Regions from separate parts of the Homo sapiens genome. Here regions 2, 3 and 4 are each linked to region 1. Evidence: promoter capture Hi-C in 16 types of primary human blood cells and fetal thymus (Javierre and others, 2016). All regions are on one chromosome and are shown on one strand. The core of a region is centred on a gene start or on the middle of the fragment in contact, and the rest is flanking DNA. Distances in the headings are between cores, read along the strand shown. Region 1 holds the start of NINJ1 (ninjurin 1). Region 2 overlaps FAM120A (family with sequence similarity 120 member A). Region 3 overlaps FAM120A (family with sequence similarity 120 member A). Region 4 overlaps FAM120A (family with sequence similarity 120 member A).

Region 1 (4,595 bases), core at 1,790-4,289:
TTCCTGGCAGGAAACCCCAGCAAGACAGCAGGAAGTGCTGGAAGGCGGGGTTCCCACCACAGCTGGGCCAGGCAGACCCACTTCCCGCGGACTCAGCACTGGCCACGAGTGGCCCTGAGACCATGTTAGGGTTGCCTTTTAGAACTTGGCCCAGACCCTGCCGGCCTCAGGATCTGCCAGGAAAGCGGAAATGAGGAAACGAGCAAACCTCCTCCTGGGCAGCTGAGGCCATGCACGGCCCAGACGGCAGGTATACAGGGCACAGCTACCTACCTCCAAGGACCATGCCTCTCGGCCCAGATGTGGCCCCAGGAACCTTCAACCTGCGGGCTGTGAGGGGCAGGAAGGTGTGGCTGGCACCAGATGGCCGTGTCCTAACCCCATCCCCACCACCTCCCTGCCTTGAGACACCCTGGGGATAACAGATTCAGGCCATTTTCACATTAACATTGTTGTTTACTATTCCTTCTGCTGACAGCCACAAGTGAGCTGACTCAATCCCTGGACACTGATGGGGGCCCTCACATGAAGGGCCACAGGGGCGCAGGGCACACGGGGTAGGGGAGACCTGAGAGCTTCCCACGGCCGTGGCCCAACAGAGCCCACCCAGGTTGGAGTTCCACGTGTGGCTCCTCCCTGAGCCTTGTCCACCCTGGGAGGTGAGCAGTTGTGCCCCATTTTACAGAAAAGGAAACTGAGACTCTCCATTTTACAGAAAAGGAAACTGAGGGAGCTGGGCAAAGCGCTGCCCTCTCCAAACCACTGCCAGGGGTCACCAGTGGGAGAGGGTCTCCGTGGCAGGCAGAAGGATGAGGGCGCTGAGTGCTGGCCTGGCTCTAAGCACTTCATATACATCAGCTACTGAGTCCTCACCACTCTCTATGGCAGGCACCGCGACCACACCCATTTCACAGATGAGAAACTGAGGCACAGAGTGCTGACATGATGTGCCCAAGAAACGGAGAAGCAAGGTCTTGAGGTTGGGAAGAGGAACAGGTGTGTTGGGTGGTCCTGGGCCCCCAGGCTGGGTGAGCAGAGCGGCCCTCGAAGTTTTCTACCCCTCAAGGGGAAATGTGCTCATCCTCACACTGGCTCATAGCCTTTCCACAGCTCCCTGGACACCAGACCGTGATCAGGCCTGCAAGGCCCCTCCCATCGGCCTGGCTTCCCATCCCCCCACCTCCTACCTGGCCCTCATGTGCTCTGTGGTCCAGCCTCTGAGCCTTTGCTCCCACTGTTCCCTCTGCCTAGATGCCCTTCCACACATCTCAGAGAGCCAGATCTGCTCACCCACCTTCCCTGCCCTCCAGGGCTCAGAGCCAATGTCCCCACCTCCACAGAAAGCCTTCCCTGACCACCATGCCCCGCCCCCCACGATGGGCTCCCAGCCCCCAGGGAACCCCCTGCTTTGCCCTGGCCTCTCCTGCCCTGTCTGGGCTGGGCTGCTCTCCAACCGCGGCTTGGTGGGGCGGGGCTGTGTCTCTCTCCCTCTGGTGCCCAGAGCCAAGACAGTGATCCGGGAACAAATCCAACCCAATCTCCTCTGGGCTTGAGATGCACCCATCTCAGGAGGCACAGCCTATCCTGCCGCCCGCAGAAGTGAGCAGAGACTGCTCTGAGTGGAGGGCATTGCCCGGGCAAGGTCAGGGTTGGGGGAGGAGCAGTATCCCTTCCTTTCCAAGGCGCTTCCAAGCCACTGACCTGTTTATTACCTGACTTGCTTTCCCCACTTCCCTGAAGGCAGGAGAGACCCTTTGTTCTCTCTTTATAAGACCATGTCTAAAAGGCCCAGCGAGGTGTGGCAACTTCCCAAGGACACACAGCCGGAGGAGCCCCCTGCCTATTGCTCCAAAGTGCTCACACACTGGGGCAGGGCCAGGTCGCTGGGGTCCCGCACACCGGTCAAGTCCTGCAGTGCGACAGCTCCTCTCTAACCTAGGAACAAGTGTCCATGCAGCCCCAGGGCCATCCTATCCCGTGGCTCATGGGGCCCCGCCTCCCCGAACATGTCCTGTCCCCACAGCACCGGCCTAGGACTGTTCACCAGCGAGTGGGCAGAGTGTCTTTGCCCCAGTCTGGTCCACGCCATGGAGAGGCCTGGAAAAACCCAACAGGCTGCTGTTCCCTGCCCCCATCCCTGAGGGGGTTAGAAAAGGAAAGAATGTTCAAAGTAAACAAGTCACCAGAGGGCCATGCCAGGACCTTGCAACAAACACAAGGTGCTCAGTAAGTGCTGAGTCCTGGGATGAAGAATTCTGAAGCGGGACCACTACCAGGGCCTGCCCCCTGCCCACAGCCCTCCCAGGCCGGGCAGGGCAAGTTCTGGAGGGCCGGTGGCGGCATACACTGAAGGCTGTGTGACGTTTCTATTTCTCAAGGCAGGTGAGTGGAATAGGGACCACAGCGGGCCCCAAGTTCCCCCATCAAGGCACGCATCAGATTGTGTGGTCAGCGTGGGGTGACGTAACTGTCTGCATGCAGCTGGTCTGGAGCCCGGAGGCTGTGACTCCCCTCCGCCCGCCTCCGGGCAAAGTGCGCGGAGGAGCCGGCACGGCGAGGCTGAAGTTAGAGAGGCCCGCGCGAGAGTGGGGGGGAGGTCGGGAAAGCCGGGCGCCGGCAGTCCTTAGCCCGAGGAGCTGCGCCGAGGCCCCCTCCGCCGTGCAGCCAAGCGCGGGCGCTGCTTAGTGGGGCTGGGGACGCCAGCCCGCCCTGCGCCCCCACGCCCCCTCGTCCCGCCCACTTGCCGGGGGTGGCTGGAGCTCCCGGGGGCATCGTTCTGACCCTGATGGGGCGGGAAGGACTTGGCCTAGAGCGGGACGTCCCCCAACACTCTGCAGTGCGGACGCGGCGCACACAGGTGCCCGGGGAGCCGCGGCGCCCCGAAAGGACAGGGCCTGGCAAGATCATGCAGCGGTGGGGGGAAGGTCTTACCGAGGCGTCCGGGGAGCCGGGTGTGCCCGGAGGCAGGCCGCCGTTGAGCTCGTACTCCTCGGTTCCCGAGTCCATGGTGCGGCCGCCCAGGCCGCCAGGATCCGGGCCTGAGCGCGCCCGAGCCTCAGCCGCAGGCTCCAGCTGCGCGCCCGCCCCCGGCCCGCCCCCGGCCCGCCCGGCGGCGAGCTGCTGCCCCAGACTCCGCCTCCACCCGGGGCGGGCCCGGGGCCTGGAGGCTGTACGCTGAGAGCGCGCAGTTTGGGGCGACCCCAACCCCTCGGGCCTGAGACGGTCCCGCGGGGCCCCACAAGGGAGGGGGCGCGACGCCGATGGCCCCAGAGGACCCTGCGCTGCGTCTTGCTCTGAACCTCCGTCGCGGACACTTTTAATCCACAAAATGAGGCCAAGAACGACCTTTCCCTGGCCACCAGGCAAACTGCATGAAAGCGAGCGGGCGTTGCCGCTGGCGCCCACGCTGGGTTTTTCCCAGGCGGGGTTCGCCCTGGGAACCGCAGATCGCTCCAGCACAGCGCCTGCTGCGCCCCTAGTAACAGCGTCAGAGAGTCCGGGGTTCCCCTGATTGCGGGCCACGCTGACACAGGGCTTCCCACTCCCTGACCTTAGGTTTTCCTGCCTGGGAAATGGGGGTTATGAGGGCACAGACTGCTGGAGGGGCTGGGGGAGGCACAAAGGGGATGAACGTGCGCTGACTCATGGGCCCATCTGTGCCACCTGTGGCAGGGGGTGGGCTGGGGGCAGCACAGTGCCCAGAGCCCTGGCCAGATGCTAGGCGGGCCCCCACCTGTTGTATGATTGAAGTGGTTGTTTGGTCTCTGTTTCTCCATATGTTCATTCCTCAGCACTTTGCCCATCTGGGGGCCTGGGGGTCGAGAGCATGTGGCGGCCACCCTGGGAGGCCAGGGGAGTTCATCCTGACCACAGCATAGTCAGCTTGCGGCAGTATGGCCACTCTATTTCCAGAAGGGCAGTGGAAGGAAGGCCAGCTCAGACCCCAGGCTCTGTCCAGTCAGGCTGCCACCGGGACAGGAGGTAGGAGTGAGTGGGCATGGGCAGGGCAGCAGGATTGCGCTTGCCCTGATCCTCCAAACGGGGTCATCCCATGAAGGAGGAGCTGTCGTGGGCCCACTTCACAGCAGAGAAACTGAGGCTCAGGCTGTCACTGCCCCAGCTCTGCCTCAGAGGGGATCTGCAGGACAGGGTCTGGCACGGTGGCCCACGACGGGGATGGTTGCTGTTGTCCTCGCATAATCAGGGCACTGTTGGCACACCTGAGTGTTCACCAGCAGCTGGAAATCCAGCACCATTCACACAAAAAACTCTCTCACAGTATGGGACAAATCCCTATTCTGGGGGATAGTGCCTGCCCACGAGGGCTCAATTCCTGGAGGGGCAGGAGGTGTGGGACCACAGAGAAAATACGTCACACCCAGAAAGGGCCCTGGGAGCTGCAGGGGAGCCCTGAGACCTTGGAAGGCCAAGGGCGTGTAGAGAGGCCCCGAAGTAGGAGGGCTTGGCAGGTGGAGACCCCGTCCTGAGAGTATTCTTTCCTTTGTGCCATGTGGGAGCTCCTGCAGTGTGGTTCATCATTCCCATCCTTTTTTTTTTTTTTTTTTGAGATGGAGTCTTGCTCTGTCGCCCATGCT
Region 2 (4,684 bases), core at 607-3,106, 380 kb after region 1:
CAGCGTTTGCACTCCTGGTCTCACCACGCCCAGTGTTGGCTTAGGGAACCTCTTGTGAATGCAGCCATGGACATTTGCTTTTCAGAGAACGAGAGTGAAGGTTTGGGGAATGTTTCTGTCCTTACCTATATTGGCAGTAGGCAGTGTGAGAGGTGGTGGTTCTTGGGTTGTGTTCCCCTTGCCTGGTGTTTTCCTCTGATTTCATACTGCTATAAAGAACTGCCTGAGACTGGATAATTTATGAAGGAAAGAGGTTTAATTGACTCACAGTTCAGCATGGCTGGGGAGGCCTCAGGAAACTTAGCATCATGGCAGAAGTTGAAGGGGAAGCAAGGCACCTTCTTAACAAGGCAGCGGTAAGAAGTGTCGAGTGAAGGGGGAAGAGCCCCTTATACAACCATCAGATCTTGTGAGAACTCATTCACTATCATTAGAAGAACATGGGAGAAACTGCCCCTATGATCCAATTACCTCCACCTAGTCTCTCTGCCTAGACACGTGGGGATTATGGGGATTATAATTCAAGATGAGATTTGGGTGGGGATGTGCAGCCTAACCATATCAACTGGTGTTCAGATGAAGAGGTTGTAGAAGCATATCTACTGCTTAAAGAGGGAAATTGGAGTCAGCAAGCTCTGGGCTTGGTTTTCTTCCACATTTAAAACAAACCCAAGGAAGAGATGGTGCAGCCGTGCAAGCCCCTGGTGGATCTGTTGTGTCTCACACAGGTTTTCTATTTTCTCTGTGTCTTCAGCAGTGTGCATCTTACTTAAACCGCCTCAGGGCTCCTTTCATCCCCAGGCCCAGTCCTCAGCTTGACACATCATAGGCCCTCAGCACCTAAGTGTTCTGAGAGGGAGTGCAGCTCCTAGAGGTCCATGTCCCATGTCCTCCTGCTTCCTGCATATCATTTGGGCCCCAGTCGGTCCTTGTTACTGCGGGTCTTGTGCTGTCTCTGGAACAGCCCTTTATGGGCACCATCTACTCACTCATTCACTTCTGTTGGCTGACGTGGCCCCTGAGCTCTCTTCCTGTGCTTAGTTAGGCCGCGCGAGGCCAGAGGTTGAGTGGGGAGGCTTCCAGCCCCTGCCTTCTGTCCCAGCTTCAGGCTGGCCTGGTTCCATGTCCTGCTGTCCTGCTTCAGCCATTCCTCTATGTGGCTTTCAGTCCTCTCACAGATTTCTTCATTTTTGCAAGGTAGCGTGGGAATGATGACTAGCACATGGCAGCACACATCAGGCAGGTTTATGAAATTATGTTTTAAGAGAACACAGAATCACAAATTACTCATCCTGTATATGTGTTAAAATGTGTAACCTAATTGCTGAACAATGAAAAGCAATTCCTTTTATATTTAAAAACTCACTAGTTAGCTGAGAACCTAATGGTAGTTGCAATGTACTTTAAATAGAAAAGTCCTCTTGCTTGACAAAGGTAAAGGAAACTGTTCGGTCCGACTTTGTTCCTTTCATGCCTGCCAGGGCTTCTGGTTTCACGGAGACCTCAGGCTAGGAGCAGCCCTGAGCAGGGAGACTGAGTTACAGAGAATCCCCACCAAGTTGCAGGCAGAGGGACAGCCGAGGCCCTCAGGAAGTACACGAGAGCAGAACCACTATGGCAAGTTCACTGAGAAATCTGGAAAGTTAGAATCCCAGCCCGAGTCCATCAAATGGAGCATCATAAAATTAAGTTTTCCTTACTGTGAAATGGCAATTTGTAATGATTTCTGAGAAGTGGGACCCATGGTGGTGTCGATGTCTGAGCCAGGTGAGGGTGAGATCCCTGGCGCCATGGGCTGGCCCCCAGGATGCCCTGGAAAACGCATTCTGTTCACAGCTGTGTGATTCTTTTCTTTCTGTGTTGGTGAAGCAGCCAGACCCGGTCCGTTTGGAATGCCTGGGATGGTGCCGCCGCATGTTCCTCCTCAGATGCTCAACATTCCGCAGACCTCTCTGCAAGCAAAGCCCGTGGTAAGGCCTTCCCTGCGTTGGGTCGGGTGGCGGGTCTCAGACAGGGTGCGTGCATTGAATTTCAACGAATGCTAAAATAAGTTCCTAACCTCTTGAATTGATACGTGAAATAGATGCCAGTGTTTGTTGAAATAAAAATGAGCCAGGAAACGTCAGCCTGGGCCTGAGTCGGGTCCTGCTGGCCACGTGTGCGTGACCTGTGCCCTTCGCTTCAGGCCCCACAGGTGCCCAGCCCAGGGGGCGCCCCGGGCCAGGGTCCATACCCGTACAGCCTCTCTGAGCCAGCACCTCTCACTTTGGACACGAGCGGGAAGAATCTGACGGAGCAGAACAGCTACAGCAACATTCCTCACGAAGGGAAGCACACGCCGCTGTATGAGCGGTCCTCGCCCATCAACCCGGCCCAGAGCGGCAGCCCCAACCACGTGGATTCCGCCTACTTCCCTGGCTCTTCTACATCGTCATCTTCCGACAACGACGAGGGCAGCGGAGGGGCGACAAAGTGAGTGGTGCGTGGGTCGCTGGGTGCTTCCTGGCGGGTAGTGACCTGGGGAAGCTGCCTTCTGGCCTGCCAGCCCAGCTGGTGTTTTGCTCAGAGATGTAGTTTATTGCAGGTGGGTGATGGTCAGTCTGTACTCAGATGGGGGCTCCTTGGACAGAGAGGAGAGAGGAAGAGTAGGTATGTTCTTGAAGTTTCCATGATTTAAAATCTGCACTATCCCAGCCCCATGGCCTGGAGCCACAGGAAACTTTCTGGGGAGGAATTTGACAAGAACTGGTTTGTGTGATGACCAAAACATGGGGGCATTTGTCCGGTGTGGTGCCACTCACACCCGTCACAGCAACCCCCTGCCGACCCCCGAAACATTAATCTTCTGGCTCCTGGATCAAGGGAGCTCTGAATTTCCTCTCCTTCTCCTAAACTCAGCAGGTTACAGGACACTTTGGAAATAACACTGTTTGCCCAAGCAAAACCCTAGAAAGCTGCCTAGACCCAGGCTGGAATTGTTTCCTTAGAGGAGTATTTTAAACACTGTGTGTCCCTGAATAAATGGGTTCACAAATACATAGTTGGTTAAAATTTGATCGAGGAAATCTTTAATTTGCACTCCTCCCTTTCTTTAAATTGTCTTATGTTTAAAACAAAAAAAACAGGGAAAGAATATTTCTTTTCTTTAAGTCAGTGTCTCCTTTTCCTTGGTGTGAACTCTACTTTACAGCGCAGATAACCAGGGCTGGTTGATGTTACATCTGTTTCTGATGTAGGAAATGTAAGAGACATAGGTGTCAGCTTCCATGCCAGTTCTTACCTTGTGTGTCACCTGAAGCAGGTGATCTTTTCCTCTCTGTCCTCTGTCCATCTGTGAAATGGGAATAAATGTCTGTTGACCCAGGGCAGAGCTTACTGAAGGACTCTCTGCCATCCAGGGATGCATACCCTGTTTATAGCAGAGAAGTATAACATTAATAAATGTTGATTTGTTGTATGTGCAGAGAAGTATAAAATTAATAAATGTTTATTTGCTGTATATGCAATGCCAAGACTCTAAAATGAAGTAAAGAGTTGCAATTGAATATTCAAATTTTTAAATTAACCTCTAGCAAGATAATATATTGAGTACCCATTGAATCAGAATCTCTGGTTGGGGCCCCCAAATTTGCATTTTAAATAAGCACCTCAGTCAGTCTTTAGCACACTGAAGTTTGAGAACAACTGCTTGATGGTCTTGGAAGCCCTTATGTGCCAGATTTCTAAGGCATGTGCATTTTGTTGTAAAACGTGACTCATGTCAGCAAGGTCCAAGTGTCTGTACAATACAGTTTTTGTCTTAGTAAGAAATGTTCTTTCTAAACTGTGAAACATAGGTAAGAAGTAAGACAAAAAGCAAAAGAAGTAAGCTTTATGACCCCAACAAGAGTTCCATGCTAGTGATGGAGATGTGGAAACCAGGTCAAGGTGCTGACTTGGGGACGTGGGTGGTGACTGGGGCATGTTTCAGTTGAGGTGCTTGTTCCTCCGGTGGGGAGGGATTGAGAAGAATGTGAGTTGCCCATCTAATTTGGCAAGTTGTCTTTGTTAGGATGAGCTGAACTTGGAGTGAGTAGGACTGCCTGAGCATGTCCTGTCTTTTCTGGGTATGCACTTCCTACCTGTCTGTGAAGGTTCTGGTCAGCTTTTTGGAGCTCTGGGCATCTGACCTCTCCAAGTGCTTATTGTCTTTATTCCTGGTATGGCATCTTTACTGTTTTCTGGAGATGCATCTTGTTTCTGCCACTGGAATTTGACCTGCTCGGGGTCTTGTGTTTTGCCATCCTTGTGGTATGAAGTGCCATGAGGAATGCAGGGTACACCCTATAATAAGGAAGAGACAGACATGTTAGACTTGAGATGAATGAAGGCAGAGGAGACAAGGGTGCTTGTTCCTGAAGGCTTTGGGGTCAGAAACTAGCATTCAACTTGGGGTGAAACCCTTGATCACAGGCATCCTTTGCTTGTGGCAGGTGCAGGGGTATGACGCGTGTGCCAAGTAGAGACAGTGTTCATGATTTTCAGCAAGGGTTCTAGTGTGTTGAATTGGTTGTATCTGCAGTGTATAATGTGCCCCTTAGGCTGTGCATAAGAGAACAAAGAATTGCTTTTATAGTTTAGAAAAAAAGTCACTACTTTTTTACCCTTTGGTTTAGAATTGAATGAGGACCCCGGGACCTACGTT
Region 3 (4,622 bases), core at 372-2,871, 330 kb after region 1:
CTTTCCTTGACTTAAATCTTAAGGAATTGTTTATTGGGCCTCTTACGAATATTCTTAGTAGTTTGACTGCATTTATTCACTCATAAATTAATTGGTAACCAAATTCCATACTTTGTAGGTTTTCTTGTTTCTTTCAACTGGACTACCTGTGGGAAGATTTCTGTTTTTATATAATAGGCTTTTTGAAACTTGCCTTTAGGCCAGGATTTATTTTTCACGTGCCTGTTATACTTTGTTCATCTAATAAAGTGGTTTGAAATAGTCTTTCAGCTGATGTATTGTCTTCTAGAATATTGACTCTTTTTTTTTAGAAAAATAAACTTATTTGGAATAATTTTATAGAAAATTTACAAAGATAGTACAGACTTCCCAAATATCCCTCACTCAGCTTCCAGGGAATGTTCACTTCCTGCTAGCTGGCACAGTGATCTAAACCAAGAAAATACCCTTGGTAGACTACTGTGAACTTCATTATGGACTTCATTTGGATTTCATCTGTTTCCCACCAGTGTCCTTTTCTGTTCCGGGACCCTGGTCAGGACCTCTAGTGTCCTCCATCCCCTGTCTTCTGGGGCAGCTTTTCTGTTTGTCTTTGGTGATCTTGACACTTCTGAGGAGTACTAATCAGGTGTTTTATAGAATGTCCCCGATTTGGGTTTGTCTGATGCTTTCTCTATATTAAATTATGGCTGTGTGTTTGGGAAAAGAATAGCCCAGAGGTGCAGGGCGCTTCTCAGCACCCCACATGGCACGTGGCATTGACTCGGCTTAGCACTGGATGACGCTGACCTTGGTTGCTTGGGTAAGGAGCTCTCTGTGGGTGTTTGCTCTGCAGTGACCAGTTTTCCTTTCGCTTATTTATAACATCCTCATACTTTGGAAGCAGTAGATGAGTCCAGTCCACATTCAAAGGGGATAGGGTTAAACTCTACCTACTGGGGGGAAAATTGTATGGTATTATTTGAATTCTTCTGTAGGGAAAATGTGTCTCTTCCCCCTTCATTTAATCATTTATTTATATCATTATGGGCTCCTGTCCTCTTTTTATAGGGTCATAACTAATTCATTTGGGGTTATATCCAGTTCTGCCTTATCCTTGCTTGCATTGTCCTGGCTCTGGCTTTGGGAGCTCTCTTGGGTTGGCCCGTGTGACACATGCCATCCTTTTGTTTTGGGAGTGCTTCCTTGCTTTCTGGACCTACGAGATGCTTTAGGTGCACCTTGTGTTTTCCTGCTCCAGTGTCAGCTGTTTCCAAAGAGAAGCCCCGGTTCTTTGTTATGGAGAAGGTGCCTGGAAACCTTGGTCTGGGCACTGGTGGGGTCCTGCTGCTGGGGTGTCTCTGTGTCTAGGCCCTCATAGCTGACAGCTACAGGTGCTACTGCTGCTTGGGGGTCCGTGTAAGGAGATCTGTGTGAACACCAGATCTTCCATTGTTTCTGTACCCACCTATGTGTGTATTTTCACCTGAACACCGGTTCTCACTGATGTCTCATGGCTAATGCAGCACCATGAGGTTCATTCTAGCCTTCTCCTTTTGCATGATTATTTGTAGTTTCTTTCTCTGACAGTGAGGACCTGGCTCATACGGCATTTGCTTTAACCCTAGTGTTCCTGCAAAGTAATTTCAGAATTGTTAACACAGATTCTGGGAGGCATACTTACACAAGTCGAGTGCACTGTTTCCCAGGTACTCAGGCAGTTCCTTTTCCCCAACCAGTTTCAGTGAGGCTATTTCATACATTTTATAATACAATTTTATAGATTTGTCAGTCTGCATTCTATCCTGGCATCCCCTGACACCCAGGTTGATTTGTTTTTTCATTTGCATACATTAAAGTTTATTCTGTGTGATGTACAATTGTATGAGTTTCGACAAATGCTGAGTCATCTTGTTGCTACCACCCCTAGGCAATCGACTTTGAACTCTTTCATTCAGAGTTTTTTGTGATTTTCTTTGCCAGATCTGCTGTCACCCCCCCCCCCCTTTTCCCCCATTGAATAACTGTGGAACCACACTTCCATTATTCACCCATGGAAAAGGACATCCTCTCTGTTACTCTTGTGGTTTTTAATGCCAGGTTGCATTTCCTCAGATAAAAGCACAATTAATTTTAACGAGAGGGAAGAGTTCTAGAATTTTAGAAGTTGAAGGAATGTAGAGATCTGAGATTTTACATTGGTTGTTGGGGAGGTTGTCCTGGCAGGTTGGGTATCTGGGGCAGAGCTGGAGCGTAGACTCCGATTTCCCTCCCCCCGACCCTCTTTACTCAGGAGACTTGGGATAGGAAAGATGGACTGAGGCCAGGTTGGGAGTGGTCCTACCTTTGCTGCAGGTGTGAAGCTGTGTTCATGGGTGTGGTCCTTTATCTTTTGTTTTAGGACACAAATTCTAGCAGTCAGATGTTTGTTTAATGCTCTGTCTGGTTTTGGGAAGGATTATGGTATGGTTAATCATTTGCAAATTAGAGTTGTACTGAATTATTGTTTGCTTTTTAATGCCAATCTAAAGTCAAGTGTTCTCAGTGAATAGGTAATTCTGTTATGGGTGGAGGAAGGAGGTAATTATGAAAAGCCCCACATGCCACCTTTGTTTTTTTGTATTTTTTTTGGTTTCTTTTTTTTTTGAGACGGAGTTTCGCTCTTGTCGCCCAGGCTGGAGTGCAGTGGTGTGATCTTGACTCACTGCAACCTCTGCCTCCCAGGTTCAAGAGATTCTCCTGCCTCAGCCTCCCGGGTAGCTGGGATTATAGGCGCCCGCCACCACGCCTGGCTAATTTTTTTGTATTTTTAGTAGAGTCGGGGTTTCACCATTTTGGCCAGGCTAGTCTCACACTCCTTGACCTCAGGTGATCACCCACCTTAGCCTCCCAAAGTGCTGGGATTACAGGTGTGAGCCACTGCGCCCGGCTACCACCTTTGTTTTATGAGGTTCTACTGCATATTGGCCTGTACTGGATAGACTGTATCTTACTAGTTTTAATTTGCTAATTTAAGGAATCTTTGGGGAACCATGAAATGCAACACCAAACTGGGGCAGTTTTTAATTTTTTTTGGTGCTTGCTGGCTGCCAGCACCAAGCTAGACCCTTGACGTGAAGATGCGTAAGCTGTGCCCCTTGTCCTGTTGGAGAGACATATATGTAAAAGAACGGTAGTTTGTCCAAAGTGCTGTAGCAGAGAGGTGACCAGAGTGTAGGTATGGTTTATAATAGTACTTCTTCAGCTTTTCATTAGGTTTTTTTCTTTTAAAAGAGGATTTTTAAGGCATAATTCCACCACTCTGATTACAACTATGTTGACCTTTGCCTTTTTCTTTCCAGCCTTTTACCACAAAGTTTTACATAGTTGGGTATATATGATATTGTATTCTGAAATGCTTTTGTTTAATACTTTATCCTAAGCTTTTTCTGTTTCTCCACAGTACAGCGTAGTGGCTGTGTCTATCTCCGTAATTTATTTTTTTCCCTTAGGAGTCTACCGTGATCCTTTTTATGCTTCTAATGTTTTTTATTTAGTGAATTAGTTTCTTAGGCTCTATTTCCTGGAGTGAGGTTACCGGGTTAAAGAGTGTGAACGTTTTACAGCTCTTGAAATATATTGCCTGCTGTTTTACAATACTGACAGCATTACTTGAAAGCTGCCAGATTAGACCTGATCCCTGCTACTCTCAGACTTCATCATCCCCCGCTTTTCCTCTTGATCCCAGGATTGGAACACAGTGGGTCCCTCTGCCCAGGCAACAGGCCAGGCTCATTTCCTGACCTTTCTAGGTCCCCTGCCCATGCTGCATGGATACTCTTCCTTGGAGGTCCTGCCCAGGGCCAGCCCCTCCTTTCAGGTCTTGGTTAGAAAGCCTCTTCTTGTGAGATGGCTTTGCTTCCACCGTGGGCCAGCAGCCCCTTCTCACCCAGGCATTGTTCACCACCCTGTGAAGCTGGGAGATGAGTGCTGGCTGTCTCTGAACTCCCTGCTGATGGAGGTGGGCAGGGCTGGGCTCTCACCTCCTTTTAGCCTCTGTTTTAGTTCTGCCCAGCTTCCTTCCCAACATGTGTGAATCTAAGGAACAAGCTGACTTTTCTAGATCTCCTTGGAGGAGTGAAGGAGGGTGAGCCAAGAAGGGAGTGGTCACTTACTGTCTCCTTTCATTTTCGTGTCTCTTAATAGAGTGTACAGACTTAACTATTAAAGATGTCTGGAAAAAAGCCAGTAATTTCTAATGATTTTAAAATAGTTTAAAAATCACTGTAAATGTAAAGTTGTACATAATAAAAAGATTTGAGGTAAAGAACTTGGATTAGAAATTACCATTTCTAGAAGTGAGAGGATGAAGCAGGCCTAATTTTGGATTTAAAAAAAATCTATTCTATTTTAGCTGGTATACAGTGTTTTTAGATTGAGGGATAAAACAGCATTTCTTATTCTAAAGAATAGAATGTTATTTGACTGATTGGATGTTGTTTGGTTTTTTTCTTATTAAGTAAAATGTTTTTATGGAAATGTTTACCGAGAATTCAGAAAGTAATTTCTTCTTTTACGTATGCATCTTGAAAAGGTTTGCTTTGCCTCTCAGTGAGATTTCATTATAGCTAACCTTCCAACAAAATGTGGCGACTGCTTTTATT
Region 4 (4,565 bases), core at 1,606-4,105, 430 kb after region 1:
GACTCTAAAACGTGCAATACAAATCCTCATTTAAATGCACTAAGTACAGACAGCGCTTGCCGCAGAGAAGCTGCTCTGGAGGCAGCTGTCTTAAATAAAGAAGAGTAAACTTATTTTTTATAGAGGGTGAAGGATGCTGGAAGGGTAAGGATTTAGGAATATCTGGAGAGAAAGAGAGCCTGCAGTTATGTACATTTTGTCCTTTCCGTAAGAGAAAAATGAGGACTTTGGAAATTCAGATCCCTCTTTGATATCAGAGATTTAAACAACACATTTTTAGTTTTAACCAGTTGTAGTCAAAATGCTACAATAAAACAAAAAAGAGAAAGAAAATGAAGAGCATTTGACTCCCGCACTTAAAATGAAGTACACATAAAGTTTAAACTGGTTATGACAAAAGCCTTTAGTTGTGTTTCTTGAACTATAAAGAAAACAAATTTTGGCAGTCTTTAAGTATATATAGCTTAAAATATAATTTTTAGCATTTGGCACCATATGTATGCCATTATATTTGATTTTGCATTACTGTTTCACAATGAAGCTTTCTTTAAGGCTTTGATTTTTATGATTATGAAAGAAATAAGGCACAACCACAGTTTTTCTTTCTTAAATTTCATCACTGTTGATGTGGTTCTTTTGTGTTAAAAAAAAAAAGTGCAACTATCAAAACTAAAAAATTATAGAGTAATATTGCCGTTCTGCTGATTTTAAATATACAATACATCATACATACTTTACAAGCAAGTTAAATGGAGATAAAGTTGAAATCATAGAAGATGCAAATGACCTTTCAAAATCAACACAATGTGTTCTGAAACTTTCGTGACTAATACCATGCATCTGTGATCAATGAACTATGTGGTTTTGAATCGGATGTAGACCATTAGTACTACTACTTGAGCTAAACTTCTGCATGGTTCATAATTTTTAAAGTGTGTAGTTAATATGCATGTTATCGTCCTTTCTTCCATTCTTAACAGTATGTGCCCATTTGCAAAACAAAAATGCTAATAATCAGTAATAGTCCTATAAAAGATGTTAACTCTGTTTAGTCATTGACTGATCTTGCTCTAACCTTAAAATTTTGTGATTATTGACCTCTGTTGCATTTATTCTAAAGCCCCCCAAAAATTATCTAGCCGTTTCGAATATCAACATTACCCTGGTGTATTCACTGCTGTATGCATTATTGTTCTTTGTTGCTGTTTTATGCCTTCATATTAGCAAATATGAAATTCTGTGAAAAAAAACCCTTTGATCTTAAAAAAAAAAAAACCACCCCCCCCTTCTGTAGCAGGAAACAAATTGCTTGTTCTTGAGAACTTTCCCATCAAGAATTTAGTAGAAGCAGGTATACTTCTATCATTTTGATGTTTTTGTTAATGTTTCCAAACAATGTACTTTGAAATCAGAATCACTTCTTATCGTTTTCATATACTTCTGATGCTCTTCATCACATTAGTGATCAGAAATGAGGTGTAATTCCCCAACCCCTGCCCGCAAGAGCTAAGTAGGATCTTACTGTAAGTTGAAGGGAGTTTTGCCCTAACTCATGGATTGTGCAAGAATGAACTGCTGTTGGGTTTGATTGACTGTCGATGGATTGTGGTGTGGTGTATCTGAAGGCTATTGAATGCAACTTACAATGCTTAATAAAAATCTTTATTCTTTTAGTATAAAGTATGGCGTGGCTTTTAAATTCACTTGTAAAAGCTAATTTTATAGAGGTTTAATTCAAATCGAAACAACTACTGAAAAGATCAGAAAACCAAAGTTGAAAAATATTTTACCTTTTCAAAGTAATTCCAGGTTTCCGGCTTAGAGGGACATTAATATATGATTAATTTGTTTGATAGCTCAGTTTCAAGCAACCAAGGGGATAAAAAAATTCTGTTTGATAAAGCAGACTTACAGAAGAGGTTTTTTTAAGCCCTGAGGAAGCAATAAATTTGACTCCACCACGTTTTAAAAGCTGGATGTTACAAGTATAGTCCGTTTTTCATGCCATCCTTTTGACTGAAGGCTCTTCTCTGCAGCCTGATATGAGGTCCCCGTACCCAGGTCCGCCGAGCGCCTGGAGAAAGCGCCCCGTGCTGCCCTCTAGCGGGGGATGGTGGGCTAACGGCGCCGGAGGCGGCCAGGAGAGCTGCGGCGATCCCGCTCCAGGGAGGGGCTGGCGCTCGCCCGGGGGCGCGTTTCCTTCCTGTGGAAGGGCGGGGCGGGGCCTTGCGTGGCGCTTCCCCGTCCGCCACCGCGCAGGTCCCGGTGCGCGCGCAGCCCGCGAGGCGGGGCCGTGTCAGTGAGGCCTACTCCCAGCTTTTTCCTCCCGGAGGCTGAGACTGCGCCGTTGAAGCCGGTTCTCTGTGCGGGGCCGGCGCCGGGCCCAGCAAAGACCCGAGTGCCCCGAGAGAGACCGAGCAGACCCTGGGAGCCCGAGTCCCAGCAAGGCCCGAGCCGAGCCAGTTTCTCCAACTAGCAGCCTGAGAGCGCTCTTGGTCCTGGCTGTTCAGACCCCAGACGAATTTACCCCTTCTTTTTATGGGGTGGGCCTTCAGAGTTTGAAGGAAGTGAAGCTAGCCTCGCTCACTCCAGGGCCTCTTCCCACCCTGACTCGCCGGTTCCTGACGGTGGCCCGCTGTTCCGGGGCCACGGCTGAGTCCCTCTGCGCCAGCCTCCCGGTGGCGGGCCAGCCAGCCCCTTCTCTGTGCTGTGAGAAGATGGGGGCGCCCGGACGCTCCATCTTTCAAAAACACCATTCCACTGAGGACCCTGCCTGTGACGGGAACCAGTCTAACCCACTCTGGATCGCACGTGCCTGGCAGAGGGACAGCGTTGTGGAGGAACACTTTCCAGGCCCACCAGCTTCCACCATCCATTGCTAGGCAGTACCTCTCCCACCGTGACAACCACGCGCTTTTCTTCCCTCTCTCAAGGGGCAGGCCCACGCCACTTGAGAATAGCAAACTGACAGGGAGAGCCCTCTGGCTTTAAGAGGGGAGAGGGACAGGTTTCTGAACAGTACAGTCTCAGCAGCAGGAGCGCGCGCATGTCAAGGGTCCCTCTCTGCTCCCTGACAAGCAGGTGCTCCTTCTTTCCGGTGGTTCTCATCTCTTAGTTGCAATTGCTGTAGGTGAGAGAGCAGCACAGCTTGCTTTAGGTCACTCTCAGCAGGGACTGGGCTGGAACCCAACCCTTAGCTCCAAGTTGGGTCTGTCCACCCGCTCCTGAAGCTCCAGTAGGTGCAGGCGTGGGCATTAAGGAGAGAGGAAGGGAGAGGGTGCTGGGGCTCCGGCGACCCTGTGGCTGGAACAAGGAGGCCAAGGACATCCCTCCTTGCTGGAGCCATGCTGGCCACTCCTTCCACACCACCAGAATTGCAGAGGAAGGCCCAAGGGCGATGCTGTCATGGGCCCAGGGGTCAGTGGCTGTGGGTGGCACTGGTGCGGGCTGGACTGAATGGTGATGCTGGTGTTTCTCCTTCCTGGCAGCATGATATCCTGGGGCAAGTCGTATGTTCTGCTGCCTGGCCATTTATCCTCTTCCTTTTCAAAAAAATAGGTTTTACTGATTTTTTTTTCTTGTTTCAAAAGCAATATGTGTTTATTGTGGTAAGTTTAAGAAATACTGGCTAGATACACAAAAAGGAAAAGAAGTCCTCGGTAATTCCCCCATCCTGAGACACCTGTTTTTAACATTTGGTCTCTCTCCTTCTATACAATATATAGATTTTTTTCTTATACAAAAAAAATCATGTTAATATTTTGTAACATTTTCCCAACTTAGCATCATTTGATGATTGCCTTTCCCTACCATTCCATATTCTGCCATAGTTCCACAGACTCCACGGTGGGGCTGCATCGTAACGTATTCAGTCTTTCCCCACCAGCATGGTTGGACATTACCTTGTTCTGCAAGCACTTGCGGAGAGTCCGTGTCAGGCCCAGCCCTAGGCCCCATGGGACAGAAGATGTCAAGGCCCCTGCCTTTCTGGCATTTACATTTGAGTAGGGGGACAACATACATGTGTACAAATAAGAATATTTCAAGCAAGAAAATGAGAAAAGATGGGGAGATGGGTGGCATGGGCAAGTGATGCAGCCATGAGTGGAGGCTATCTGGGAATACAGGTCTGGGCCAGGAGCAGCGGATGGAGCACCCAGCCAAGGGGAATCCATGGAGAGCGGAGAAGCCCATGGCCACCCCGAGGACAGGGCTTGCTGTATCCTCCAGTGCTGTGGTCTGTTGAAGGCTTTGAGGCAGGACGGGTTGTGCTTGGATGCCCAGTGGGCTCCAGGTATCCATGCTACCCTGTAGGTGAGTCTTGTGAGGACCAGTGTCATTATTCCTGGTTAGCATTTCATCAGAAGAATCTCCCAGTGGGGAAGGGTGGGGGAAGGGTGGGGGAAGGGTGAGGGAAGGGAGTCTTTTGGTGCTCCTGCTGATTTAGCTCCGGAACGCTGCTTGGTATCCAGGGTCCAGGAGCTCTTTGTCTGTACTAGCCTGGCTGCTGGGCACAGTCAAGGCACTGGTGTTTGCCAATTTGACAGGTTAAAAAATGGGTTTTT

Evidence for each region. Contacts are between HindIII fragments. The CHiCAGO score rates a contact against its expected background, and 5 or more counts as called.
Region 2: a contact is called between a fragment that was not itself captured here and the fragment with the promoter of NINJ1 in region 1, in 1 of 17 cell types (neutrophils). The highest score is 6.0, in neutrophils.
Region 3: a contact is called between a fragment that was not itself captured here and the fragment with the promoter of NINJ1 in region 1, in 1 of 17 cell types (monocytes). The highest score is 6.6, in monocytes.
Region 4: a fragment that was not itself captured here is called in contact with the fragment with the promoter of NINJ1 in region 1 in 1 of 17 cell types (neutrophils); the score reaches 7.7 in neutrophils.

The regions. Positions count from the first base shown.
Region 1 is chr9:93,131,212-93,135,806 of GRCh38, forward strand. It overlaps NINJ1 (ninjurin 1), which reads right to left and starts at 3,040. Exons shown (of 4, transcript NM_004148.4): 1 at 2,932-3,040. The coding sequence starts at 3,006. LOC124902212 (a long non-coding RNA gene) reads left to right here and starts at 1,801. Exons shown (of 3, transcript XR_007061665.1): 1 at 1,801-2,382. RefSeq lists enhancers at 1-165, 166-763, 2,245-2,294, 3,754-4,350 and silencers at 2,585-2,834, 3,005-3,234, 3,735-3,784. The HindIII fragment of the contact is 11,448 bases long and covers 1-4,595 here.
Region 2 is chr9:93,513,798-93,518,481 of GRCh38, forward strand. FAM120A (family with sequence similarity 120 member A) reads left to right here. Exons shown (of 18, transcript NM_014612.5): 6 at 1,870-1,970; 7 at 2,186-2,472. Among named protein-coding and RNA genes, the nearest start is that of PHF2, 60 kb to the right of the region's middle. The HindIII fragment of the contact is 4,022 bases long and covers 1-3,867 here.
Region 3 is chr9:93,465,274-93,469,895 of GRCh38, forward strand. The region is part of intron 1 of FAM120A (family with sequence similarity 120 member A); the gene reads left to right. Among named protein-coding and RNA genes, the nearest start is that of FAM120AOS, 14 kb to the left of the region's middle. RefSeq lists enhancers at 1,369-1,935, 3,974-4,033, 4,114-4,163. The HindIII fragment of the contact is 3,555 bases long and covers 1-3,399 here.
Region 4 is chr9:93,564,433-93,568,997 of GRCh38, forward strand. It overlaps FAM120A (family with sequence similarity 120 member A), which reads left to right. Exons shown (of 18, transcript NM_014612.5): 18 at 1-1,680. The coding sequence ends at 108. Among named protein-coding and RNA genes, the nearest start is that of PHF2, 9.9 kb to the right of the region's middle. RefSeq lists a silencer at 1,981-2,400. The HindIII fragment of the contact is 4,632 bases long and covers 540-4,565 here.